Regions from separate parts of the Homo sapiens genome. Here regions 1 and 3 are each linked to region 2. The links are contacts of gene promoters, found by promoter capture Hi-C in blood cells and fetal thymus (Javierre and others, 2016). All regions are on one chromosome and are shown on one strand. Each heading gives the region's core, a stretch centred on a gene start or on the middle of the fragment in contact. The rest is flanking DNA. Distances are from core to core; before and after follow the strand shown. Region 1 overlaps CMSS1 (cms1 ribosomal small subunit homolog). Region 2 holds the start of FILIP1L (filamin A interacting protein 1 like). Region 3 overlaps CMSS1 (cms1 ribosomal small subunit homolog).

Region 1 (4,235 bases), core at 1,268-3,767, 220 kb after region 2:
GAAACAAGAAAATAGCACACCAGCACACAAAGCTAATGGGGCCAGTGAATCCACCTCTGGCCAGACCTGGCACCAGACTAGCTCCTGTTAGGCACCCACAACAGATGAACAAATGGGGCAGATCTTCACCTGAACTCCTAAGTGCCACCTTCTCTTACACCTTTTCAGATACAGATCTTCTCCCTTAGCACTGAAAGAGTATTTTATTTATGTATCTTATGCAATCTACTTAGTTTTTAACCATCCTATCTCCTTTTCTATTAATACCTCTCCAACCAACTCCTAGCTGTAATTGTCTTAAAGCAGGAGATTTGTCTTACTTTCTGCAATATCACAAAAAAACTTTGAGTATCATAGCAGAGAGGAAAGAAAATTTACTGAAGCTATTATATGCTGGTTCTATGTTAACTGGCCTTCCTCCTCCAAAATGTATCTCACTTAACATAGCAGGTCCTTAATAAATGAATACTGAATATCTTGACACCCAGCTTCAAAAAGAAGAAAACTGTAGAGCAACTCACAGAAATATTTGTGGATTTGGCAAAGGGGGAGCCAGATTTTTTACCTTCAAAACGTCTTGGGTTGGGGTGGAGGGAAGTAAAACCTAAAGATATTTTTAAGTATCTCTATATTTGATAAAGGGATGCTGGCAAACAAAAATCATTCTCAATCAGCATGAAACTATTTCTGCTCATCACAGAAAAATAAATTATCTGTAGAGTATAAATGATTTGAGATTAAAGCAATTGAAGATTACTTTAAAATAGCTAACTTTAAAGGAATTAGCTATCTGCTTTTGTCAAACAAATGATGTAATTCTTAGATACCTACATGATAGTAAAAAGATCCATAAAACCTCATACCTTAAAAAACCAAAATCTAGTCTTAGATTGAGAAGACTTCAAATTCTATAAAATGAACAATAATATTTGTTACTGTTACTAAATGCCTATTAAAAAATGTCTAGATGCCGGCTGGGCGAGGTGGCTCAAGCCTGTAATCCCAGCACTTTGGGAGGCCGAGACAGGCGGATCACGAGGTCAGGAGATCGAGACCATTCTGGCTAATACAGTGAAACCCCGTCTCCACTAAAAATACAAAAAATTAGCCGGGCGTGGTGGCAGGCGCCTGTAGTCCCAGCTACTCAGGAGGCTGAGACAGGAGAATGGCGTGAACCCGGGAGGCGGAGGTTGCAGTGAGCCGAGATTGCGCCACTGCACTCCAGCCTGGGCAACAGAGTGAGACTCTATCTCAAAAAAAAAAAAAAAAAAAAAGTCTAGATGCCAATTTTGTTACTGGAAATAGAGATACCTGAAAGCAGAAAGGTGTCTTCTAAAAATCCCCAGATTTCTTCCCAGTAACACTTGAGAGAACAGACACACAGAGCATCATGCTTGCATCTTAGCAAGGCATTGCCACTCCTCCTCCAGTCACTGTCCTGATCACTTCTAATTCAGCTCTGTTTTGGGGGATCAGCACCAACAGGGGCCTCATCTTCTTTGTGAAGAAAAATACAGGCCAATAGTACGCTTAGAATTTATGTAAAAGATAACTTAGAATAATCCATTAAGCCCACATGATCGACATGAACTTGACCTATGTTTAGATCAAGGATAAAATCTGATTGATTTATAAGCTAGTTATGTCATTCTCTTTCCCTTTGGCAGTTCCAGACAATAAGGCATAAGGGCAAGCCTTTGAGGGTGGGTGAGATGGAGTAAGGAATTGGGGGAGAGTTATGGGAAAGGCTTACTGGCTCCTAAAGAGACACCAGAAGAGATGGCACCTTCTCCACCTCTGGGTGTTGCAGGTTTGGATGAGATGCCTGGAACTACTGAGGTCATCTTGCTACCAGTGTGACAATGAAGCCATCAAAGGGAAGAGATCAAAGCCACAAGAACCAGGGAGTCAGAGGCAACATGCTATGTCTAGAACCTGCCACAAGGCTGGATTTTTTGTTGTGTGGTGACATATTTCACTATTGTTTGAGCCAATGGGAGTTCAGGTTTTTGGATGATTACAGCTGGACACTTCCTAGACAAAGTATAATTTTTTGGTTACTCACATTCTAGACCACTTGGAGAAGCCAGGGCACTATTTTCATGACAGTTCTCAGTGAAGGTCAATAGTTTAAAGTTGCCATATCCTGGGAATTCTTCAAAGATGTGAAGCCCTCACATTACATGGTTCTCCATACAAAATTGGAGACTTGCCTAGTGCACTATGAAAAACTTCTTAATTCAAGATGCAGTTCTCAAAGTGGCATCATTCACATAAGAACAGTTTCCCTTTGAAGCATCTGGAATGAGACTCCAGTGATATTCTATTTCTCACAGAGGTTTGGTAAAAGCATAGCAGAAGCTCTTAGACCATCCCTCTTTACATCAGGCTCTGACTAATGTGTTTGCCTGAACTAAGAAGTAACAACTGTGAAAAAATCAGAAAAATTATTATATTGTATTTAATATAAATTTAACTAATAAGTGTTAGTGAATCATAGCTATTCTAGATAGCCGACTGATTCTTCTATTAATATGTAGACCTAAGAATGACTAGAACTTAAAAAGTGTAGTTTTGTTAATAGTTGGACCTTATCTTGGACACAATGTTTATACAATTAGGCAACTGAAAAATCACTGGTGGCTTATTAGTAAGCTGAGCAATGAATGGAAATGCTGTGATGTAAATCTGTACTGGGTTAAGCTAAAACTCCATTTCTTAATTTGAAATATTTCCTTTTAGACATAGTTTTCAGGCTGATTTTCGGTATGAGATTATTATTGTTCTAATGTCCATTGCTGATGGTGAAATGGATTAGCTACCCTAACCTAGTGTCTCACCAACAAAACAAAACAAACAAAAAAAACCCAAAAAATCCAACACATATTAAAAAGCAAAATAAAATATATACAATATTTCAAAAAATACATCTATAAGATGGCAAGTAATATTAGGAATATTCAAGGCCAAAGACTGAATAAAAGTGAAAACCTAGAAAGGTAAAGCAAAGCACAAAAGCTGGTTTTTGCTTTGAGAATGTTTTGTTAAACTCCATAAACTTAAATTTTAGTTTTCATGACATCATAGGGCATGTAGACAGAGTACAAAGCCCAGGGTCCTCCCAGCCCCACATAAAGCTGAGATTTCAAAGAGCTAAACTGTCAGAATGCCCAGATGGAAGTACCCACATTACCCAGACGAAAGGGTAATTTAGAAACAAAATCAACCTCTAAAGGACTGCAAGGAAAACTGCTTTCCATGAACTATGGCATTGGGAGTTAGAGGGAAAATAAACTCCACTGAGAAGGTATACTAACAAGCTAGCCCACACGAGAATTTGCAGATTCATACTAACTGGGTGGTCTGAAAAAAAAACAAAAACAAAACAAAAGAAAAAAATCCCAAAGATCCTAGGTCAAAAAATTCAGTTTAAAAAGATTTTAGGCTGAAAATACCCCTTTGGCATTTGGCACAAATGGAAATCCTCTCTAGAGGAAACTACCTTCAACTCAGGGCTCAAGGAATTCCTACATATAAAATTCTGAGATACGTGACTTCATATAAAAAAATCTGAAAGCATACAGAAAATAATATACAATTATTGAAAGCCAGTGACATTAAATGGCAGAATCAGAGCTGCAAAGACCTCAGATATTTAAATAATCAGACAGCATGTAAGACATACTTAATATGTCAGAAAAAAAAAAACAGCGGATTGGTATTTCTAGTTTAAAAAGTAAAAGACTATAGAAAATGGTCAAACTAGAAAAACAAATAGAAACTTTGGGAAATGAAATAGGTAACAACTGTAGATCAAGGAATGAGAATTAGTAAACTGGAAGAAAAATTCAAAGAAATTGCACAGAATATAGTCTGGAAAGCCAAACAGATGGAATAACTGAAGAGTAGTTAAGGGATGTGAAGATAAAGAAAGTCTAACATGTGTCTAATCTAGGTTATAAGAGATTAAGGAGAGAAAAAACTGTTCAGAAGCCATATTTGAAATGTTAATATAAACTAAGAATTTTCTAGAACTGAAGAAAGACACTAATCTACAGACTCAGGAAGCTCAATGAAACCTGGTAAGGACAAAATAAAAGAAATCTGCATTTAAGTACATACAAATGAAATAGTATAATATCAAAGACAAAGGGAAGATCATAAAAACAGCCAGGGAAAAAAGGAATGACAATTAGATAGATGATTTTTCAACAGTAAAATGGGAAACCAGAAGT
Region 2 (4,529 bases), core at 954-3,453:
TAGATTGGAAATGCAGCTATCAGTGTGATCTCATAGTCTTTAATATAAATAGACAGAGCAACAGATATAGGCGCGCGTGTGTGTTTGTGTTTCCTAGCCTATTACCTGAAAGGGCCTGGAAGCAATGAGCTCACGCAATCCCCAGATCTTGGTTTCTAAATACCATTTTCCATAATGGATGGAGGTCTTCTTGAAGATATGGCTAATTCCAGAGTTGGGCACAGAAAGTACAAGATGCTTATGGAACATTTTCTTGTGCCAGAAGGTAAGAAAGTACTCAGAAAAACATGAGGACCACATCTGAGATCATTTGAGCATTAAAATAAATAATGATATTAGTGATTTATAACTCATTCAATAAAACAGCAATTTATGAGCTCATGTTGATATAAATAAACACAAAAATAAGTGAGGAGAAGGGAATGCTCTTCTTCACTCTAAGAAAGTTTATTTAAGAGCAATATGTTTACCTAGTCTCCAAGTATCTCCCCACAAAATATTTATTAACTGCAAAAGGAAAAACCATAATTTTACAGTAAATCTAACAGATACCACCTTAAGCAAGTGGGTTTGGTTACAAGACTAACTCCGTTTATGTGACTCCTGATATGATTAAGAAGAATACAGCATTGTTTCTGTAGTATTCCTGCCATAAAAATACACAATTTCAATCTCACAATGAGGAAACATCACACAAATCTAAACTAAGGAACATTCTACAAAACGTACTCTTCAAAAATGTGAAGGTCACATATAAAAAAGGAAGATTACAGAACTGTTCAAGATTGAAGGAACGTAGAGACAAGGCAACTAAATGCAACACATAATCGTGGACTAAAAAACCATTTTTTTTCTATAAAGGATATTATTGAGACATTTGGTGAAAAGTTGAATGGGATCTATGGATTAGAAAGTAAAGTTGATTTACTGAATTTAATTGTTATACTGTGGTTATGTAGAAGAGTATACTTACATTTTTAAGATAATCACACTAAAGTATATAAATTAATTCAGAAAAAAATATACACACACCAAAATAAACTCACGGGTGGAAAGGAGGATGAGAGAGAGAGACAGAGAGAGAGAGAGAGAGAGAGAGAGAGAGAGAGAGAGAGAGAGAGAGAGAGACAGAGAGAGAGAGAGAGAAAGAGAAAGAGAGGGAGAATACAACCAGTGGTAAAATGTTAAACATTGGAGAACCTTAGTGAAGAGCATATGGAAATTCTTTATTATTCCTGTATTTTTTCTATAAGTCTGAAATTATTTTGATGTTAAAAATTAAAAATAAAGAGCATGGGCTTTGGAGTAACTCAGATTCAATTTTGAATCCTCAGTCTTATATCTATCATCTGTGAGATCCTAGGAAGTTATTAAATTATTCTGATCTTTGGTTTTCTCATTAGATCACCAGGAGTAGGACTAATTTAAAGGGCTGCTGTGAGGATTAAATTAGATAATGCATGACTTGAGCACTGGGCAGGTGGTAGGCATGTCTGGTAAGTGATCTGATACATAATGGATGCTGAAATATATATTTGTTGAATAAATGAACAAACTCCTCCCTTCTATCCAACCCCTCAATCTGAACAAGTGATCCTACTTAAAGAAAATTAGATGCTTCAAATTTTAGCAATCCTAAGTATGAAGGTTTTCTTAACACTTGAATAATATAAAACAAAATGTCAAATAATAATAATAAACATACCACCATGCATTCCGATGTTGCTCTAGAGTTTCCTCAGCACTTTGCCCTCGTGTCTCCTGTGACACTAAATGGAACAGGCAGGCATTCAAGTTTGAGTCCAACACAGCGTTAATAATAGCGAATGTTTACAGTGCCTTGGGTTATGGGTGTCAAAGAAGGGGTCATGCCCTTGTTACTTAAATCACAAACAAGGCTTACATCAGCTCATGGCTGCAGGGTACAAAATGAGGTGCAATTTAATGTCCATCTGGGCATCTGTTCCTAAGGTGCTAGCACTGCTGTCTGTGGTTCACAATATATCTGGGGTAGCAACACAGCAAAGAATGGGACCCAGGTTGTGCTTGGGAAGTTTCTACTCTCAGCCAAGATGTGCACATGAATTTAAAATTACCTAAGAGGGTGTTTCAGAGTTGCTGGCCAAAGAGTGGTGTCTTCTAATCTGGAGAGCAGCTGCTGGGCACAGGCATGCAAACACACATACACAGACACACACACACACACACAGACGTGCTCACGGAGCCTGTGCCTGCCTCTACTTGTCTGCTCTGCGCAGATGGTTCCTGGCTTTTGGGTCACCTCATCCTGCAGCCCAGTCCAGTTAGAACCTTTCTTCCACAGAGACTGGCAAGCTGTGGGGTAAGAGTTTTGGTAAGGCTGCCTGTCTTCAGAGCATGAAGGACACTGCCCGGAGAGGGAAGAGGGCAATATTTAGTGTTTGGGCCTACTTGTTGTTGGGCTCCCCACTGCCTCTCCTTTGCAGAGCTATCACTGGCCCCTGGTTGCAAACTCTCGGTGGCTTTCAAGCCTACAAAACAAAAACTGAGAGGGTGTCCAAAAAGAGAAGAAGAAAACGTTGTTGTTGGTCCTGGATTCCACTGTTGGATTTTGGTGGGGATGAGAAGAAGGAATTACCAGGTGTGATCAACACCTGCACGGTACCTGCACGGTAAGCTAAGTGTCCCCATCCTTGCTGAGAAGAGGCTTTGGGATGTTTCTGTGTTATTCACCAGCTAGGAGCGGCCAACACCACTCTCCAAAAGTAGGATCTTGTGAATATTATGCAAGGGAACGTAGTATGATTAAGAGCTTATGACAGATGATGACTTTTAGGCTAAAATGACTAAGAGTTGCTTGCAAAATAGAGGAACTATCCTGACAGTAGGTAAGTTTTACTATAGTGATACACATGAAAGAAAACCAAAATGAAACTTTAAATTGTTATCCTGTTAAGAGTAAGATGGATAGTCAAAAATTAAAGAAAAAGTATGTTTGGATAAATGGCTTTCCTTCTTAATAGCTTGATTTTGTAAGCTGATGTGAATGATCAATATACAGTGTCAAAATCATCACAATGTGTTGAAAATGGAGAATTATACTGAATAGGTTAAATTGCAGAGGAGGAATTCTCTTTTCATGGAAAGATTAATGGAAGAAACTAACATTTTCAAATGGCAACTATATTGTATCTTTTTTCTTTTGTTTGTTTACCTTCTGTTGATGTTAAGATTTAATGAATGAGAGCCAGAGAACAGAAGCAGGTTTCTGAGATAAGGTTTTTGGCAGGTCTTGGGAGATACCTATCAAGAACTTGTTCTGTAACACCCCACAGAAGATGACTGGATATCCATGGGCACATCACATCTGGATATAAATGGGAAATGATGCTAGGCTGCTGCCAAATGATATCACAGAAAATTCTGCTCACTGTACTCCTCAATGGGAGGATTATTCAATGTTTAGGGTGGCTGCACAGTTTTGTATATAGGCGCTCCACTGAAGAGAGATATGTGTTCAGTTAAAATGGTTGTGACATATTCAGTTATTCTTTTTTCTTTCCATACCAATTAATGATTACATATCTTTCTTTATTCATTATCTGTTCACATCTCAGGAAGGAATAGAAGAGGTGCAACACATACACTGTTTAACTACACTACCATATTCCACGTGTGTATTAGATATGCATAAAGGAGAACATGGTGTAGTTAATACTAGAGAGAATGCATTGCAATTACAGCAATGTTCCTTTAGCTACAGTTAAACTTGTTTTTCCTGTGATGACATTTTCTGATTTATCAATCTGCTATCTCCCAAAGCCAAATATTCCAAGTAAACATTTCTCTACATTTATCAGTTGACACTATTATGAAACTCTCATTATGCTTAATTAAAAATCAGCATAAATACTGTAAGAGCTGTTTGTTAATAAAAACTTCTAAAGGCAGCAATAATATTCATGGGCTCTTTCCACCTGGGTAATTAAGGTCTACTACTCTGATGAGAATTTTCTCAGTAATTTCCCAAAGCAATGTGGGGTTTGGATTCTTATACTAACCAATACAAAGATACTCTGTAAAAGTTCTGCAGCAAAGAAAAGCATTCATTATTTAAAGAGTGACAATTTATTTTTAGAGTTTACCTTCTATTAAAGTTCATGTGTAATTGTCTTTTTTGCTTAAGCTTTATTTAAGCAATAAATTAGCAATAAATTTAAGTAATAAATTTAGTCAAGACTTGGTCTTAGGTAGTGGCGCTGGCACTGGAAATGAAGATATTTTATTGTGCCATTGAAATGATGGTGCCTTTAATAGAGTGCTATTGTAGGAGACTGCCATTGCAACTTGCCGAGAGTCAGGCAGGTCCAAGGATGCAAAAAACCTAAATGTAATGGGCTCTATCTTCTTTTCTTCTGATTACAGTCCATATTATTCTATGTTCTAACCTAAAGCAAAATTTTCATTACCAATGTAATACCCGCTTCACCTTTCTAATATGTTACATTAAAAAACATTTAAAGAAAAAGTGCTAGTAGCTTTTATTTTCC
Region 3 (4,132 bases), core at 1,310-3,809, 250 kb after region 2:
TGGGTGGATAAATCAGAGTTCTACTCTTCTTAGCTCTGCCATCCATTTACTGGGTGAGCCTCCTGTTCCCTTGGTTTCTACAAATTACAAAAAGGGAACAATGTCATCCACCCCAAGTATTTCTCAGTACTCAATAAAGATTGAATAATGAGCAATAACCCTCATGGGAACTCTGATCAAGTAGAGAAGAGACAATATAAAAATAAAAGCTACTGATTATATCACTACAGAGACAAATTAGCTAAAGAAAATGAGGGTAATTTGAGGGAAAGAGTCCACATGTAAATGGAGAAAAGATGAACACAGCTGTAGCACTTGGGCCTGTGAGAGCTCCAAATCACTGTATCTAAAGCAGCCTCAAGGCTGAGGTCAGTCCTCTAAGATGGGCTGCCCTGACAGAAGCAAATCTGCCAGATTTATTGTGTCTCATGGCCCACCAGTCCTGGAACAAAAGTTTAAAGGTGAAATATGTTTTTCTCTTTCTTTTTAAAATGCTTTTTTATGTGAATCAAAACAAAAACAAATCTCTGAGCAGAGATCATAAGTGGAATGTAAAACATCACATTTGGGCTCGCAAGACTTAAGTGTCTGCCTGTTAAATTTGAAGAAAAGGAAGGAGTTGCCTGGTCCAGGAGCCTAGAGAGAACATGAGAAAGTTGCTGGTTTCTTGCTGAAGACAAACACCCATTCAGTGAGATATTGTGGAAGTCCCTTAGTCTTAACTTGTTAGTCTGTTAATTGGGAATGGCAGAAGAAGTGAATTACTCTGTGGAATTTTGTGAAAATGAATCCACTGCTGCTAAAAGGAAAATTATCTACTTTTCAAACACTCATATTATTAAAATAAATACATTATGTTTGAAGTCGCATATTATTCTTGAGGCTTTCAAATAAAAGTGAGAGTAACTTTGCCAAGTGATTTGGGGCTCCACTAATCTCCCCCCAAATTCTGCCCCATAAAATTCTTTTTACAGTTCAATAAAATTCATTAGGCTGAACACAGATGCAAAGAATCACAGGCAAAGTTAAGATTCTCTGGCCAATTTTCCCCATCTGGACTTTAATTAAATTTGTCTCCAAGTGAATTCTTCTCTTCACTAAATGGTTCTCCTTCCAGAAGTGACAAGAACAAGAGGAACAAAACTCTACTTGTCCTTCTTCCATTCTAATAACAAGTCATTCTGAGAACTTTAGGTACCACTCAGCCTAAGGGATGGTTATACTCCCCTAGGAAGTGGTTCTTTTTACCTCTCTATCATTTGGTCAAGTATGCACAGAGTTCAACCCATATGAGGGATACAGAGGTATTATTCCTTTAAGGAGCTTACAGTTGGCTTAACGGCAAAAGTAATATACTAAAACAAATTAGAAAGCAGTACAAAATAATGTAGAATATTTAGGTAATAAAGCTGTAAGGGCTGTGGGGACTTAGAAAAGGAAAATCAGCCAGGGTTAGACAAGTTAAGAAACATTCATGGAAAAGATGGGAACTGAAATGTAAATGGAGATGACTGAATGCAGCATTCCAAAAAAGATGGCAGACTTATTCTTCAGAAGTCTATTATGAAAGGAGAACCTGAGGTTAAAAGACAAATAAGGCTTGTGCCAAGATCAGAGCACCCAAACTGTAAGTTTAAAAACCCATTATTTGGCCTTCAGAACAACCTGGACTTATGCAGAAAGGAAGGCAGCTTAAAGTAACATCACTTCTTAACCTGAAGCTTAAACGTGATGAAGCAGTTGGCACAGTGCCAAACCTATAGCAGCTACTGTTACTCTTCTGGTTATGCTAGTCTATCCATAGGGATGATGCTCCTTCATCATCTGGTGCTGCTGGGCTGACATATAGGGGGCTGTCTCAGGCCAAAGAGGAGGTCCTTTGTAGGATGCAGTCATGAAGAATTCCTGTTCTCAGACACCCAGCTGTGAAGTGGAGTAAAGGATTAAGCTTGTTGAAGATCTGTCTCTAGCGTGCCTAACCTTAGCCACTCTGTAAGGAGAGGTTACCCTTTACCTTGATTTCCCTGCTACAAGGCAGTCCCTCCTGTGAGAAACCCACAAGAACTTTCCTAAAAATGTCTTACTCATCTGAAGTAAGAAACAACTTCCTGAGCAGGTAAAGGACCGAAGAGAGCTGGTGACTGCAAAAGGCTTAAAAGCTAGTTTGGAATCTCCCTGTTTTACCATGCACCCACAAAAAACAAATCTGTAAGACAAATCTTTACAACCTGGGCTAAATGGCTTATATCAGATCCTAGCCACAAACAATAAAGAGTCTCTTTTGAAATTAACAGTCTAAATACTTTTTGCCTAGGTGTTAATTTTTCAGTTTAATTGTACTTTGAATTTAGTATAACATTTTAAGTACTTATTTGCTTTTACAGCATACTTACAACTTGTGAACTACAACAGACTCAAATAAATCTGAATCCCATGGAATTCCAATTACGGTTTTCCATTCTTTTGAACCATTGAGACTTGATGAGCCATAAAATCTCTTGACATGTGAATTTGTATACAGTGTTATATAGGAAAGAAGGGAGGAAAGGACTCTAAAGATTGTTGGGAGTATTTATTTTGTGGAACTGAGATTTGAGATTGCCAAAGGCTTTGTAGACCTTAGAGACAAAATTGCACTGCTCTTCCCATGTTGCAGCTAAGGTGACAAGCAGATGAGGTAAGGTCAGATAGTTAAGTCACTAGCAGATTTTGGTCCAACATTTCCTGTCCATCAGATATGTGGCTTTTCAATTGTTTAATACCTGGGGTTCTGCTTTCTTTGTTTTTAGCTGTGAATTAGTAAACTTTAAAAAGCGATGAATAGTGAAGCCAGAGCTTTTTTCAAAAACCTTTTTTTCAGCTACTAAAACCTGAGATAGTTTGCCTTCTCTTAAAATTCAAATCACAAGGTAAGATATGGTCAGGGCAAAAATGGATGGTATTCAAATAGCACATACATGAGGTATACTATAGCCATTTCTTTAACTGCCACAAACAGAACATTTCTCACATAGATAAACTAAATGGGTGAAACTCCTGCTCAGGGACAGTATAAGCAGCAGACCCAGGGCCAAGAGAAGTGGGGTACAGTCATTGCTCTCACCTCTAGCAGATATGCTGTTGACCACTGTCATATTTTGATGGAATTACTCCTTGCTATGCAAGCTTAATATCCTCTAGAACATGTTCATCTTAAAAGAACCCAACTTACAGGAAAGGAAGTATGATCAGACTGTTTATGCATTTTCTGTCTTCTCAGTATTCAGAAGTTGCTGAAAAGGAAAACATAACCCAAATGCTCTGGACTTACAGTCAAGGGAAAATTAAACAAGGCTCAGATAACCAAAATAATTTTAATTTGTACAAAGCATGCAAGAGGACAAGCAAAACACAGACCACAAGAAAAATGGTCATTCATGTTCCAGCAGATTACAGAATAAAACTTTTCCACCTGTCTGTAATTAGAGATGGCATATGGCCCAAACTCTCACTTTGCAAAAATCATGGAAAAGATATAAACCAATCATCCTCAGGAACTAGGAAGAGTGGGTAAAGGTAGAAGTAGGATGCTCACTGTGGCTCATGATTTAATTGTTTACTCAGCAGGAAGCCAAGCCACACATTAACCCTCATCCTCTAACTGCCTGAACCTCTAAGTACTCTTAAATGTATTAAATTTCCCTATTTTCCTTGCTCCTTGTTTACTGATTTATGACAGCTAAAATCGAGGACCCAAAAAAGTCCTCTAAGGATCAAAATGTTTCACATTTTATACTCTTCAGGCTGCTATCCATCCTGTTTCTATGGCAAACTGTGACTTCAGTAGTCACAGTAAAACATAGGCATCTGTTGTTGTGGTTTCTAAATTTCTGAAGTTTGAATTTCCCACTAACAAGTTAGGAAACGTTTGGTTTCCCAAGCATACCACTTTAGCCACTGCCTCTGTGTAGGCAGCCAGACTACAAGGAGGTGAAAACCAGTGAACTTATCCATTCTGGTACGTGACTGGCCCCTGCTTTGGCTTTTTATTAAATGTGGTGAACTGAACAACAATTAAGGTAAGAAAGCCACATAAAAAAGGAAAGCCTTTAAAAAAAAAAACACAGGCTTAAAAAAAGTTTTAACTTTTTGC

Evidence for each region. The method cuts DNA at HindIII sites, captures the fragments that hold promoters and counts their contacts. A CHiCAGO score of 5 or more calls a contact.
Region 1: a fragment that was not itself captured here is called in contact with the fragment with the promoter of FILIP1L in region 2 in 3 of 17 cell types (erythroblasts, naive B cells and megakaryocytes); the score reaches 6.0 in erythroblasts.
Region 3: a contact is called between a fragment that was not itself captured here and the fragment with the promoter of FILIP1L in region 2, in 1 of 17 cell types (M1 macrophages). The highest score is 5.0, in M1 macrophages.

Annotation. Positions count from the first base shown.
Region 1 is chr3:99,890,202-99,894,436 of GRCh38, reverse strand. All of the region lies in intron 1 of CMSS1 (cms1 ribosomal small subunit homolog), which reads right to left. All of the region lies in intron 4 of FILIP1L (filamin A interacting protein 1 like), which reads left to right. The region is part of intron 1 of LOC105374010 (a long non-coding RNA gene); the gene reads right to left. Among named protein-coding and RNA genes, the nearest start is that of HP09053, 68 kb to the right of the region's middle. The HindIII fragment of the contact is 5,601 bases long and covers 1-4,235 here.
Region 2 is chr3:100,112,175-100,116,703 of GRCh38, reverse strand. FILIP1L (filamin A interacting protein 1 like) reads left to right here and starts at 2,203. Exons shown (of 6, transcript NM_001387850.1): 1 at 2,203-2,651. The region is part of intron 1 of CMSS1 (cms1 ribosomal small subunit homolog); the gene reads right to left. The HindIII fragment of the contact is 6,115 bases long and covers 1-4,167 here.
Region 3 is chr3:99,866,141-99,870,272 of GRCh38, reverse strand. All of the region lies in intron 1 of CMSS1 (cms1 ribosomal small subunit homolog), which reads right to left. The region is part of intron 4 of FILIP1L (filamin A interacting protein 1 like); the gene reads left to right. All of the region lies in intron 1 of LOC105374010 (a long non-coding RNA gene), which reads right to left. Among named protein-coding and RNA genes, the nearest start is that of HP09053, 44 kb to the right of the region's middle. RefSeq lists a silencer at 1,834-2,128. The HindIII fragment of the contact is 1,217 bases long and covers 1,951-3,167 here.